Linked DNA regions of Homo sapiens: all the other regions are linked to region 1. Evidence: promoter capture Hi-C in human tissues and cell types (Jung and others, 2019). All regions are on one chromosome and are shown on one strand. The core of a region is centred on a gene start or on the middle of the fragment in contact, and the rest is flanking DNA. Distances in the headings are between cores, read along the strand shown. Region 1 holds the start of UTRN (utrophin). Region 2 overlaps LOC105378036 (a long non-coding RNA gene). Region 3 has its middle 9.4 kb from the start of STX11.

Region 1 (4,587 bases), core at 1,176-3,675:
CTCTCCCTTCAGAACGCTTCCGGCTGTCATATGGACCACCAAGCAAGAGTGTATGAAATAAACATAAGGTGTTTAAAAAATAAACATAAGGTGACAGCCTTAAAGACAAAACTAATGTTTCAATTTTTTAAGATTTTAGGAATTATACAATGAATATATGTATATAATTTTTATTTTGTACTATATTTTATGTATATAGCACATATATATCCAACAGTGTGCATTATGATGGAAATGCTGTGTAATGCAAACACTATTCATTAATTTACTATAGGAACCAAAACCTAGGAACGATTGAGATAGTAGAAAAGGAAGCCAAGCGGACAAGAGTTTGCTGCTCTGCTTGAAACACAGTAAAAGAAAACGGTGAGTGCCAAGAACTGCCATTTACACTCGGAAGCGCTCCAGGGAAGGTTAATACTACTGTGATTAATACTGTTTACAGAGCCAATAAATTTTAGGTAAACACCCAAAGGAGAGTTAAAGAGTTGTCTCATCGGTCCCATAAAGGCTGGTAAAAGGGGCGGGGAATGGTTCCACGCCAACCCTGTCCGTCACCGCAGAACTACCCACAAGCTTCGCATTCCTCCACCTCTCCCCTGACCCTGAGCTATCCGCAGGCTGCGTCTCCCACGCCCACCGCCAACGAACCGGGAGGGCCCAGATCGACTTCCTGAGGCCGGTGCAACTTACAAAGGAATGGATGCGGTCGCTGCCGCCCGGCCGGGCGGCCGGGAGGGTCGGCTCAGACCTAGGGAATCCGGCCTCCCCCGAGCTCCGCGCGCTCTGGCCGCGGCGACCGCTGCACTGACCCTCCCAACCGCGGCAGGGGGAACTGGCCCGCAAGGCCCTGGTGATCCGGCTGACCTGAAGGCTGGGAAAGAGGAGGCCCTGTCCTGAACACCTCAGAGAGCGGGGCCGTGGAGTTAGAACCCGAGCTCTGCAGTTCCTTGTAAAATAAAGTGCTGGTCCCACAGCTCTCTCGGAGGTCGGGCAACGTTTTCTCCCTCCTCCTCGAAAAACGCACTGGAATGAGTCCCTTTCATAATCTGAGGCTTGGAGGAAAAAATCCTTTGAACAACCTGCCATCTGAAAGTTGCACAGCCTTCAATTGGTGCTTTGTTGGTTTTTAAGTGGCCTTGAGCAACCACAGCCTCGGACCCCGGGCCAAAGCGGGGCATGAATTACCTTGTCAGTTGCAGCAAGAGATCCCCAGAGTCCGGAAAAGGAGAGCCGGCGACTGCGCGGGACTACACACCAATGGGGCGCCCCCCTCCTCCTGTCCCCTCAGTCTCTCCAGGGCCGCTGCCAGGGAGCTTGGCGATCGCGCCACACTCTCCGGAGCCCCACCCTTGGGAGCAGCAACCACCCAGAGGTCAAGCACGTTCCCCGCCGGGCGGCTGGCTGGGAAGCGCTCCGCTGGCCGCCGACCACACAGCCACCCTCTGCCCACCCTCTCCTGTGGACACCGCCGGAGCCCCGCCTTCCCCGGGCCCGGGTGTCTGTGACAGACTCTCCTAAGAGGCCACGTCCCCTCTTGCAAATCACTGGCCCAGCGCCCTGCACCGCGCGATGCACGGAGGGCGACTCTGTCACCCCGGCGGGGAGGAAGATTAGGGGAGCAGGGAGGCAGCACAGAGCTGGTCAGATAAGTTTGGATCGTTCACAACTAGTACGGATCCCAAGGACCTCCACGCCCGAGCTCTCCACGCCTCCGGCATTCTCTCTCGCACCGCGGGGAGCTAAACTGAGGCCCCGAGGAAAGGGCACGCAAAAGTTACTCCCATCTTCGACTCTGGGACTTGGGAAGCAGCTCGGGACGCCGATCCCAGGCGGAAGAACCACAGAAAGAGCCATCCTCCTCCCGGCCCCCGCCCCATTCCCTCGGGGGCTGTAGTCACATTACCAGCCCGAGGCTTCAATAATGCATGGGCTTACCTGCTGCCCGCGGGCCTCCTCGCCTGCCGGTCGCCACCGCCGCACCCCGAGCTGGCCAAGGGCTCCTCTAGGAGTTTGACACGGAGTAACCGCGGGGGTGTGTGCGAGTGTTAGTTTGGTGGTGCGATGTATTTAAAAAAAAAAATAAAGCTTGGAGAAGCAGACACGAACCGAAATTTTAAAAAAAGAAAGAAAGAAAGAGAAATTGACACCCGACTGAAAACGCCCCTTACTTGTGCAATCTTCCTGCCTGGTAGTTCCGCCAAAAACAAAACAGTCAAAGCGCAAACCTGGAAGGGGCGCGCAGGCACCAACTTTGCCAAACGCTACAGAGTTTTCCGTTTGCAGAAATGACCCAAAAGAAGGGGGGCGCCGCTCCCCGTGATTCCCCAATCGGCTTCTGGAGCCAGAGGCTCCTCCTCGCCCCTCGGCGGGAGAAAGCCCGCGGCCGGCTGCTGCTGCCCGCTTCCCTGCTCCGAGGAAAAACGACTCCACAACTTTGTGCGCGAGAGAGGCTCGCTCCTTCGGCGGCTCCTCCTCCTCCTCCCCGCTGCGGGCCTGCCCCTTTGTTGGAGCCGAGCGCTGGAGGCGGAGGAGGGAGGGTGGGGCGCAGGACCGCTGGGTCGCGCGTTGCCGCCCCCACCCCCCGGGAAGGGGCTCGCCTCCGGGCAGCCAGGGGTCCGCTCTCCAGATGAGAAGGGTGCAGATCAGCGCCAGCCCTCCGGCCCGCGCCTCTGCAGCGCTCCGGCTCCCCCTCGGCGCTCTCGCCCCGCCGCCGCCGGCCCAGCAACTTTGTTCCGGAAGATCAGCCCCACTACGTTCCCGGGTCAGCGTCTGCCGGGCCTCGGCGGTCACCGCGGCCACCGCGTCGGGAACTTGGCGCCCCAAGTCACCTGACTGCGCGCCCCGTCAATCAGCGCCGGCCCTGCGCGCCCTCCCAGCCCGCAGCAGCCCGGCTCGGCGCTTGGCTGGCCTGGGGCGCGCGCTCCAGAGTGAACCGTGCGTGCCGGGAGCCGGGAGTCCGGAGACCGAACCAGAATGGATGCCTCGAGCAGACACAATTCCCCTTATTCAGATTATCCGAAAATGTGAGTCACGTCCCCTTAGGCAAAACAGGTCTCTAGTTAGGGTGATATTTTTTTAAGAGATAAATTCCAATCTGCCTTCCAACTCACCCCATCTCAGTTTGCTGACGTTGCTGATTTTTTTTTTACCCCTAGTTCCAACCGTATATTTATTTTACATTATTTCTCTAGTGTCGTTGTTAATATTGAAAAAGAAGTTTTCTCTTACATTAGTTTGTATTACAAGTAGTGTTTGCGCTGACCTTATTTTTCTGTTTTCCAATATGCACACACAAACGCACATCTGTTATAGAGCCTGTTCCAAGCTTGAGAGGTTGACCAAAAAATATCTGGGAAGAAATGAGCTCGTGATGTGTGTGCATTTTTCTTATTTACACATTTCATTGCTCGTGTGTTCCTGTGATTCTTTTACACGATCAGCACACGTGGGAGGGGAAAGAAAACAGCAACCTGAGTTCCTAGTTCGTATTAACAGAGAAAAGGATGGTTGATACTGGAGCGCCGGTTTATTGCTGGCTTAATATTTGAGTTAATTTACGCGGCAGTAAAGATTAAACCACTAGGGGCCTTAAACTAATTTTCAGAAAGAGTTTACTCGCCTTTTGTTATAGTGAAAGTTTCCCCCATCCATCCCTAAGTGCTCCAGGGAGGGGGCAGGTAGGAGATTCCCAAAAGAGACTCTTCCTTGTAAGGTTTCTAGGACAGTTTCCTTCCTTTTGATGATTTTCTACGTATAAGCCAAATAAAATCCAAAGGATTAACTTGAAATGGGTATGATTTTATTCATTCACTTCATTCATTCATTTAACAAGCATCAGTTTAGGGCTGTCAGGTTTGCTGGTTCTGTGGGTAAAGCAAAGATAAATCTGATAGTGATCTTACCCTTAAAGAACTTGGAATGTAGTAGGTGAGATAAGACATGTAAACAAGTAAGTATATACAAGATCCGGGAGATAAATGCCATAAGAAAAGAACAGATCAAGTGCTAGCTGAGTATGGTCACATAGAGGGACTCCAGGATTTTTTCTTTCTTTCTTTCTTTCTTTTTTTTTTTTTTTTGACAGTGTCTCTCTCAGTTGCCCAGGCTGCAGTGCAGTGGCGCGATCTCGCTCACTGCAAGCTCCGCCTCCTGGGTTCACGCCATTCTCCTGCCTCAGCCTCCCTAGTAGCTGGGACTACAGGCGCCCACCACCACGCCCTGCTAATTTTTTGTATTTTTAGTAGAGACGGGGCCTCCCAAAGTGCTGGGATTACAGGCATGAGCCACCGTGCCCAGCCCCCAGGTTTTTTTTAACTGATCATTTTGCAGACACCAAAAGTTGCTTATCACTCACTGTATCCTGGTTGAGTTGATGAAACTCAGATTTTCTCCTTCAAAATAGATAATAAGGCCACATTGGAGTGTTTGATGATGTTGTCACTTAAATTAATATTTGTGACACTTTTCACAATTTACAAAGTAATACATCATTTTAGCTCAAAAATTTTGAAAAACGCACGTTTAGGGTCCTATGATTTCTGGGATTGTAAGCTGTGAGGAGATGTTTAGTCGAGCTTCCTCAAC
Region 2 (4,587 bases), core at 847-3,346, 160 kb after region 1:
GAACACCAATCAGAGCTCAGGATCACACATCACTCCAGCTGAATCCTAAGCCAGAAGAAAGTTTAGTGAAATATATGGGTGAAATGAAAATAAACTATCAATCAAGCCAATAGTTTTTCTAGTTGGGATGGACTTCAGGAGATTGTAAGAGCAGTGGCCCCTATTAAATCAAGTGGAGGTGCCAGAGTTGCCAGGCAGAGTGGAGGAAGGGATTGAAAGGCCCACCAAAGTGTACATGCTAAACAGGGTCTACTATGTGAAACTGGAAACTTATCAGCTAAATATGATTCTTGAAAGAGTATGGAGGACTTATGCATCAAGGCAATAAGGAAATTGCTGGTAGAGGACACCAGTGTCATTGAGGTGAGTGGTGGCTCTCCTCTGTAGACCAGAGTTGATGATAAGAGATGCTATTTCAGAACTAGGGTCCCTAGTAGTCATGGAGATGATAGGATTCCAGAGGCCACACAGTAGCATGCTACCACCAACAGTGAACAAGCAAAACCACCCTCAGATTTCTGACCACCAGAAACTCTGTGGGATAATTAAAAGTCCTAGCCAGAGCAATTAGGCAAGAGAAAGAAATAAAAGGCATCCAAATCAGAAAAAAATTGTCTCTGTTTGCAGGCAACGTAATCTTATACACCAAAAACCCTAAAGACACCACCAAGAAAAAGCTGTTGAACTAAAAAAAGTTTCAGTAAATTGCAGGATACAAAATCAATATACAAAAATTAGTAGTGTTTCTACACATTAACAATGAGCTATCTGAAAAAGAAATTAAAAAGACAATCCCATCTACAGTAGCATCAAAAAATAAAATAGGAGTAAATTTAGCCAAGGAGGTGAAAGATCTGTACACTGAAAACTATTAAACACTGATGAAAAAAATTGAAGGAGACACAAATAAATGGAAAGATATCTCACATTCCTGGATTAGAAGAATTAATATAGTTAAAATGTCCATACTACCCAGAGTGAATTACAGATTCAGTGAAATTCCTATCAAAATTCCAATGACATTTTTGAGAGAAATAGAAAAAAACAGTCCTAAAATTCATATGGAACCATGAAAGACCCCAAATAGCCAAAGAAATCCTGGGCAAAAAGAACAAAGCTGGAGGCATCATACTACCTGACTTCAAGATATACTACAAAGCTATAATAATCTAAACATCATGGTACTGGCATAAAAACAGACACTTAGACCAATGGAACAGAATGGAGAGCCCAGAAATAGATTCACACATTTACTCTCAATTGATTTTGGACAAAGATGCCAAGAAAACACAATGAAAAATGAACTGTCTCTTCAGTAAATGGCGTTGGGAAATATGGATACCTACATGCACAAGAATTAAATTAGACCCTTATCTCACACCATATGCAAAACATCAATTCAAAGTGGACTAAGGACTTAAACATATGGCCTGAAACTGTAAAACTACTAGAAGATACCAGAAGACAAAAGCTCCATGACATTGTTCTGGGCAATGATCTTTTGGCTATAACCTCCAAAGCAGGGGCAACAAAAGCAAAAATAGATCAATGAGATTACATCAAACTGAGAAGCTTCTGCACAGCAAAGAAAATATCAACAGTGTGGAGAGACAACCTACAGAATGGAAGAAAATATTTGCACACCATACATTTGATAAGGGGTTAATATGCAAAATATACAAGGAACTCAAACAATAGATGCTAAGAAACACCTCAAACAACTCAATACTAAGAAAACAAATAATCCAATTTAAAAATAGATAAAGGACCTGAACAGTCATTTCTCGTAAAAAAGTCATACACATGGCCAATAGATATATTTTTTAAAAACTCAATATCACTAATCATCATCACATTGAAATCACAATAAGATATCACCTCACATTTCTTAGAATGGCTGTTATCAAAAAAATGAAAGATAGGGAAACCCCCTTTGGGTCCCCTCCCTTTGTATGGGAGCTCTGTTTTCACTCTATTAAATCTTGCAACTGCACACTCTTCTGGTCCGTGTTTGTTACGGCTTGAGCTGAGCTTTCACTCACCATCCACCACTGCTGTTTGCCACTGTCGCAGACCCACCGCTGACTTCCACCCCTCCGGATCCAGCAGGGTTTCCGCTGTGCTTATGATCCAGCGAGACGCCCATTGCCACTCCCAATCTGGCTAAAAGCTTGCCATTGTTCCTGCACGGCTAAGTGCCCAGGTTCATTCTAAGCAAACTGAATAGTAGTTGCTGGGTTCTACGGTTCTCTTCCATAACCCACGGCTTCTAATAGAGCTATAACACTCACCACATGGCCCAAGATTCCATTCCTTGGAATCCGTGAGGCCAAGAACCCCAAGTCAGAGAACAAGAGGCTTGCTGCCATCTTGGAAGCGGCCTGCCACCATCTTGGGAGCTCTAAGAACAAGAACCCCCAGTAACTTTTTGGTGACCATGAAGGGACCTCCAAAGCAATGGGAAACTTTCCCCCCAAGGCAAAAATGCCCCTAAGATGTATTCTGGAGAATTGGGACCAATTTGACCCTCAGACGCTAAGAAAGAAAAAACTTATATTCTTCTGCAGTACCGCCTGGCCAAGATATTCTCTTCAAGGGGGAGAAATCTTGCCTCCTGAGGAAAGTATAAATTATAACACCATCTTACAGCTAGACCTCTTTTGTAGAAAAGAAGGCAAATAGAGTGAAGTGCCATATGTACAAACTTTCTTTTCATTAAGAGACAACTCGCAATTATGTAAAAAGTGTGATTTATGCCCTACAGGAAGCCCTCAGAGTCTACCTCCCTATCCCGGTGTCCCCCTGACTCCTTTCCCAACAAATAAGGACCCCCCTTCAACCCAAACGGTCCAAAAGAAGATAGACAAAGGGGTAAACAATGAACCAAAAAGTGCCAATATTCCCCAATTATGCCCCCTCCAAGTCGTGGGAGGAAGAGAATTCGGCCCAGCCGGAGTGCATGTACCTTTTTCTCTCTCAGATTTGAAGCAAATTAAAATAGACCTAGGTAAATTATCAGATAACCCTGATGGCTATATTGATGTTTTACAAAGGTACGACACTCCTTTGATCTGACATGGAGAGATATAATGTTACTGCTGGATCAGATACTAATCACAAATGAGAGAAGTGCCACCATAACTGCAGCCCGAGAGTTTGGCGATCTCTGATATCTCAGTCAGGTCAATGATAGGATGACAACAGAGGAAAGAACAATTCCCCACAGGCCAGCAGGCAGTTCTCAGTGTAGACCCTGACTGGGACACAGAATCAGAACATGGAGATTGGTGCCGCAGACATTTGTTAACTTGCATGCTAGAAGGACTAAGGAAAACTAGGAAAAAGCCTATAAATTATTCAATAATGTCCACTATAACACAGGGAGAGGAAGAAAATCCTACTGCCTTTCTGGAGAGACTAAGGGAGGCATTGAGGAAGCATACCTCTCTGTCATCTGACTCTATTGAAGGCCAACCTATCTTAAAGGATAAGTTTATCACTCAGTCAGCTGCAAACATTAGGAAAAAACTTCAAAAGTCCGCCTTAGGCCCAGAGCAAAACTTAGAAACCCTATTGAACTTGGCCACCTTGGTTTTTTATAATAGAGATCAGGAGGAGCAGGCAGAACGGGACAAACGGGATTAAAAAAAAGGCCACCGCTTTAGTCATGGCTCTCAGGCAAGAGGACTTTGGAGGCTCTAGAAAAGGGAAAAGCTGGGCAAATCAAATGCCTAATAGGGCTTGCTTCCAGTGTGGTCTACAAGGATGCTTTAAAAAAGATTGTCCAAATAAAAATAAGCCGCCCCCTCATTCATGCCCCTTATGTCAAGGGAATCACTGGAAGGCCCACTGCCCCAGAGGACGAAGGTCCTCTGAGTCAGAAGCCACTAACCAGATGATCCAGCAGCATGACTAAGGGTGGCCGGGGCAAGCGCCAGCCCATGCCATCACCATCACAGATCCCCAGGTATGCTTGACCATTGAGGGCCAGGAGGTTAACTGCCTCCTGGACACTGGCATGGACTTCTCAGTCTTATTCTCCTGTCCCAGACAACTGTCCTCCAGATCTGTCACCATCCGAGGGGTCCTAGGACAGCCAGTCACTAGATACTTCTCCCAGCCACTAAGTTGTGACTGGGGAACTTTACTCTTTTCACATGCTTTTCTAATTATGCCTGAAAGTCCCACTCCCTTGTTAGGGAGAGACATTCTAGCAAAAGCAGGGGCCAATATACACCTGAACATAGGAGAAGGAACACCCGTTTGTTGTCCCCTGCTTGAGGAAGGAATTAATCCTGAAGTCTAGGCAACAGAAGGACAATATGGACGAGCAAAGAATGCCTGTCCTGTTCAAGTTAAACTAAAGGATTCCGCCTCCTTTCCCTACAAAAGGCAGTACCCCCTTAGACCCAAGGCCCAGCAAGGACTCCAAAAGATTGTTAAGGACCTAAAAGCCCAAGGCCTAGTAAAACCATGCAATAGCCCCTGCAATACTCCAATTTAAGGAGTACAGAAACCCAACAGACAGTGGAGGTTAGTGCAAGATCTCAGGATCATCAATGAGGCTGTTGTCCCTCTATACCAAGC
Region 3 (4,587 bases), core at 1,161-3,660, 140 kb after region 1:
ATAATAGACCCCTTATTTAAAACCTCTGCTTGAATTATCCTAATTTGAATATGCTATCCATTTCCCTTTGGGACTTTAACTAATACAGTCTTCTTAATTAGTAGCTAGAGCATAGTCTCCAAATCCCATCTCTGAAAATTTTATAACTACAATCCTGACAGAAATGTTCCCTAGTGATATTATCATATCATTATTTCAATCCACTTATTAGCTTTATGGAGAAACCAGACTGTATGCCATATAAATTGTTCTCCAGTACACGCAGACTAGAAATATATTCCCAGATTCACAGGCAAATCTTTTTGCATATAGCTTTTCTACATAAAATGTAGAAATAAATTGATGGAAACATATAAATGAGAAATCTTTTAGTGTTTTGAATTGGTACATAATATTTTACATATTTGTGGGGTACATATGATATTTTGTTGCATGCATAGAATGTGTAAGGATCAAGTCCAGGTATTTGGGGTATCCCTCACCTTGAGTTATTAATCATTTCCATATGTTGGAAACATTTCAAGTTCCCTAGTTTAGCTAATTTGAAATAAACAATACATTGTTGCTAGCTATAGTTAGCAACAATGGAACAATAGAACTGTTATAAACATTAGAACTTACTTCTTTTATCCAACCGTAATTTGTACCCTTTGACCAGACTCTCTTCATCCCCCTTTCCACTCACACAACCTTCCCAGCATCTGGTATCTATCTATCATTCCACTCTCTACCTCCCATGAGTAAGAACATGTGAAATTTGCCTATGTCTGGCTTATTTTACTTAAAATAATAACCTTCAGTTCCATCCATTTTGCTGCAAATGACATGATTTCATTCTTTTATGGCGGAATAGTATTCCATTGTGTTTATATACCACATTTTCTTTATCCCATAAATGTAAATTTACAAAGTAAAATCAAGTTAATTGTTAAAGTTTTAAATATTTCAATATATAATAAGTTAAAGTTTTAAATATTTCAGTATGTAATAAGCATATCTTAAATTACTTCTAGATATGTGATGAAATCTGCAAAGGTTTCAGTACTGCAAACAAGTCATCATTACTCACATACAAGACAACACAGTTTTTATCCCTTGAAGCTTGTTTTAAATGTACAATTTTTAGCAAACATGAGATCATTAAAAAATATAAACCTAATAATGCTGATACCAATATTAAAGATAACCAATACTATTGTTTGGTTACAATGTGCTAAGCACCATATTCACATCGTCGTATATTATTTAATTTCTCATCACAAATTTGTGAAATGTGCACAACTCAACCCTATTTAAGAGAGGAATAGACTGAACCCTATAGCCTCCTGTCCACTGTCCAGGAAACAACAAGCAGAAGACTTCAGACTCAAATACTAGTGTGCAACACAAAAATCCAGGTTCTTCACCATTAATAATTCAAGAACAATGTTAGAGACCACAGAAGAGGCCGGGCGCAGTGGCTCTCGCCTGTAATCCCAGCACTTTAGGAGGCAGAGGTGGGCAGAGTGCTTGAGCCCAGAAGTTCAAAATGAGCTTGGGCAACATGGCAAAACCCCATCTCTACAAAAAAATACAAAGAAATTAGCCAGGTGTGGTGGTTGGTGTCTGTAGTCCCAGCTACTCGGGAGGCTGTGTTGGGAGAATCACCCAAGCCCAGTAATTCGAGGCTGCAGTGAGCCATTATTGCACAAGTGCACTCCAGCCTGGACAATGGAATGAGACCCTGTCTCAAAACAACAACAACAACAACAACAACAACAACAACAACAACAAAACTGAAAATAATGACTTTCCAAAGTAAATGATTTTTTTCATCTTGTTATCTGCACAAAAGGGCAATATGAACTTAAGGTAAGCTTAGAAAAAATACTAAAAAAAGAAAAGAATGCAACAGATAACTCTCACAGAAAAGCAAATTTCTTGTTGTTTACTAAGATCATTTCTTTTTCCAAGCTTGATACGCCAATAGGGGTAGAAAACATGTGGCGAAAAATCGTATTATTTTGGTATTTGTTAAATTGTGGTCCTGCCTATAATTCCTGAATTGACACTATTGCATCTTTACTTTAACCCAAATTTCAATTAAGTAAAAACTTTTCTTTGATATATTTGCTTACTTGTAAGAGGCCTGAAGTTTGATATGTACTGGTTGCTCTAACGTATACAAATAGAACAAAAGTTTTCTGTGAAGGAGAATGGGTTTTTAAAAAATCTGATCTAGAGATAATCTAGTTGATCCACTTAATAGCTCTTTATGGAAACCAATTTTTCTGCAACTGTGATTTTTGCATAACAAGTTGCAAAAGTATTTTAAGATCAGACTGTTACTCAATACTCATTTCTGGTAAACTCCTTTTTGCACCATTGCCTTCGTCTGCAGAACAGATAAAAGTGAAACGGAAAAGCACAAACAGAATATAACACATAAGCCATGCCTTTTACAGATATTAGTTTAGCCACAAGCCTTGAAATACTGGTTTTGAATGTGAATAATTAGTTTTCAACAAGTGTAATTTTCACAGATACATTAAACATTTGTATAGCCATATTCTGTTCATTTAGATGAATTTGTGTCATCTATTTAGAAACTCTATACTTCCATGCCAAGAAGCCTTACTTTGGGGCTGAGATCTGGCTTTCTTCTCTTCTTCCTCCCCTTCATCCATTTCATCCCCTTGAGGCTGCTCCATGTCTTTGTCTTACTTTTCCCTTTGGCACTCTTCAGATGGACCCATTCCTTCTTCACGGATGGTTTATAGTTTCTGTGAGTTCACAGACCACAGCCTGCTAGCAACCTTCCATGACCCTGAAGAAAATTTGAAAGTGCAATACTGGCACCAAAAAAAAACAAGTTGTTTCAAATGATGAATTGGGCCAGGCATGATGGTTCATGCCTGTAATCCCAGCACTTTGGGAGGCCAAGATGGGAGGATCACTTGAGGTCAGGATTTCAAGATCAGCCTGGCCAACACGGCGAAACCCCATCTCTACTAAAAATACAAAAATTAGCCAGGCGTGGTGGCGTGCGCCTGTAGTCCCAGCTATTCAGGAGGCTGAGGCAGGAGAATCGCTTGAACCCAAGAAGCAGAAGTTGCAGTGAGCCAAGATTGTGCCACTGCACTCCAGCCTGGGTGACAGAGTGAGATTCTTTCTCAAAAAATAAATAAATAAATATATATATATATATATATATATATATATATATATATATATATATGTGAATTGACCAAAAATGGCAGAGTAAACAGGTTGAAGTCTGAGCAGTGAACTCACCGATTCAAAGGACAGTCTTTCCTTGAGACATCTGCCTCTGTGGGTGATGATCTTTTTGAGACCTTGCAGAAGCTGACGGATGTTCCTGTCAGTCCCTCGCTCCTTTCCTTGTGTGCCCCAGGTGTGAGGAGTGATCTTTGGTAGGGTCTAACATGGCCTTGCCTCACTCAGGGTGTTGAAAGCAGGCTGCTGTAGCTGATTTCTTTAAACCCTATTTTTCTACAGTTTGGTGATGAAGAAAGGTGAATTATGAAACAGGAACTTTTGCCACAACCCTGTATCCCTAGTCACAAAGAAACATTTACAAAAGTCCACATGCAAACTGGAATTCATAATTGATTACAGTGCGAATGTGGGTGCTAGACTTATTCACACCTATTTCTTCCACAGACCTGGCACAGCATCTCTGCAAATTAATGAGTGGGCCCCTTTTCAAGAAAAAACCGATATGGCACCCAGTGTTGACAAATTATTTCTACCACAGTGTTACTTGAATGTAATATAAACACAGTGTTACTTAAACATAAACAAGCTATAAATTCCTTATGGCTGTAGACCCTTTAAAAAACTATAAAATCCAAACCAATTTGCACATTAAAAGCATAAAATTAATAATAATATTAAAGTAGACTGGGTACAGTGGCTTATGCCTATAATCCTAACACTTTGGGAGGCCAAGATGGGTGGATCTCTTGAGCCCAGGAGTTTGAGACCAGCTTGAGCAAGGCCCCGTCTCTACAAGAAAAAAAAAAAAAAGCAAAAATTAGCCAGGTGTGATGGTGCAAGCCTGTAGTCCCAGCTACTTGGGAGGCTGAGGTGGGAGGATCACCTGAGGTCAAGGCTGCAGTAAGCCATAATTGCACCACCAAACTCCAGCCAGAGCCACAGAATGAGACCAGACTCAGAATAATAATAATAATAAAACAGCATTGATTTAACATTGTTTTGATGAAACAAAACCACGGAAGTTTATTCTAAAAGTAGAAAAGGTCATTTGGGCGTTTTGTATTTCTCTTGTTAGCTATGTGATTCTCTTTATTTTGAATATATTTGAATATGAAAATATCCAAATATTTTGAATACCATTTATTTTGAATATAATAGACATGCATTTGAGGATCTCTCATTATCCCTGTTCTGATTTTCTCTTTTAAACTATACATATGTCCTGAATCGTCAATCCATGGTTCATTAATAAGACATCAATCTAAAATGCTCGCTAAAATAAAAGGCCAAAATATGAATTTAATTTAATGAAAATGTTTTTATTCAATATTTATGATCATATTTAGTCCTAATGAATTTAAATATTGG

What was found. The method cuts DNA at HindIII sites, captures the fragments that hold promoters and counts their contacts. A contact is called where the count stands out against the background at its distance.
Region 2: a fragment that was not itself captured here is called in contact with the fragment with the promoter of UTRN in region 1 in 2 of the 25 tissues and cell types used here (mesenchymal stem cells and spleen).
Region 3: a contact is called between a fragment that was not itself captured here and the fragment with the promoter of UTRN in region 1, in 1 of the 25 tissues and cell types used here (spleen).

What each region holds. Positions count from the first base shown.
Region 1 is chr6:144,283,173-144,287,759 of GRCh38, reverse strand. It overlaps UTRN (utrophin), which reads right to left and starts at 2,425. Exons shown (of 75, transcript NM_007124.3): 1 at 1,939-2,425. LOC124901418 reads right to left here and starts at 1,262. Exons shown (of 1, transcript XM_047419641.1): 1 at 1-1,262. The coding sequence starts at 1,089. The coding sequence ends at 481. RefSeq lists silencers at 2,486-2,585, 2,796-2,855 and an enhancer at 2,986-3,055. The HindIII fragment of the contact is 2,482 bases long and covers 227-2,708 here.
Region 2 is chr6:144,118,901-144,123,487 of GRCh38, reverse strand. All of the region lies in intron 3 of LOC105378036 (a long non-coding RNA gene), which reads right to left. Among named protein-coding and RNA genes, the nearest start is that of SF3B5, 26 kb to the right of the region's middle. The HindIII fragment of the contact is 3,257 bases long and covers 468-3,724 here.
Region 3 is chr6:144,138,840-144,143,426 of GRCh38, reverse strand. It overlaps a transcript of STX11 not described here. Among named protein-coding and RNA genes, the nearest start is that of STX11, 9.4 kb to the left of the region's middle. The HindIII fragment of the contact is 4,534 bases long and covers 144-4,587 here.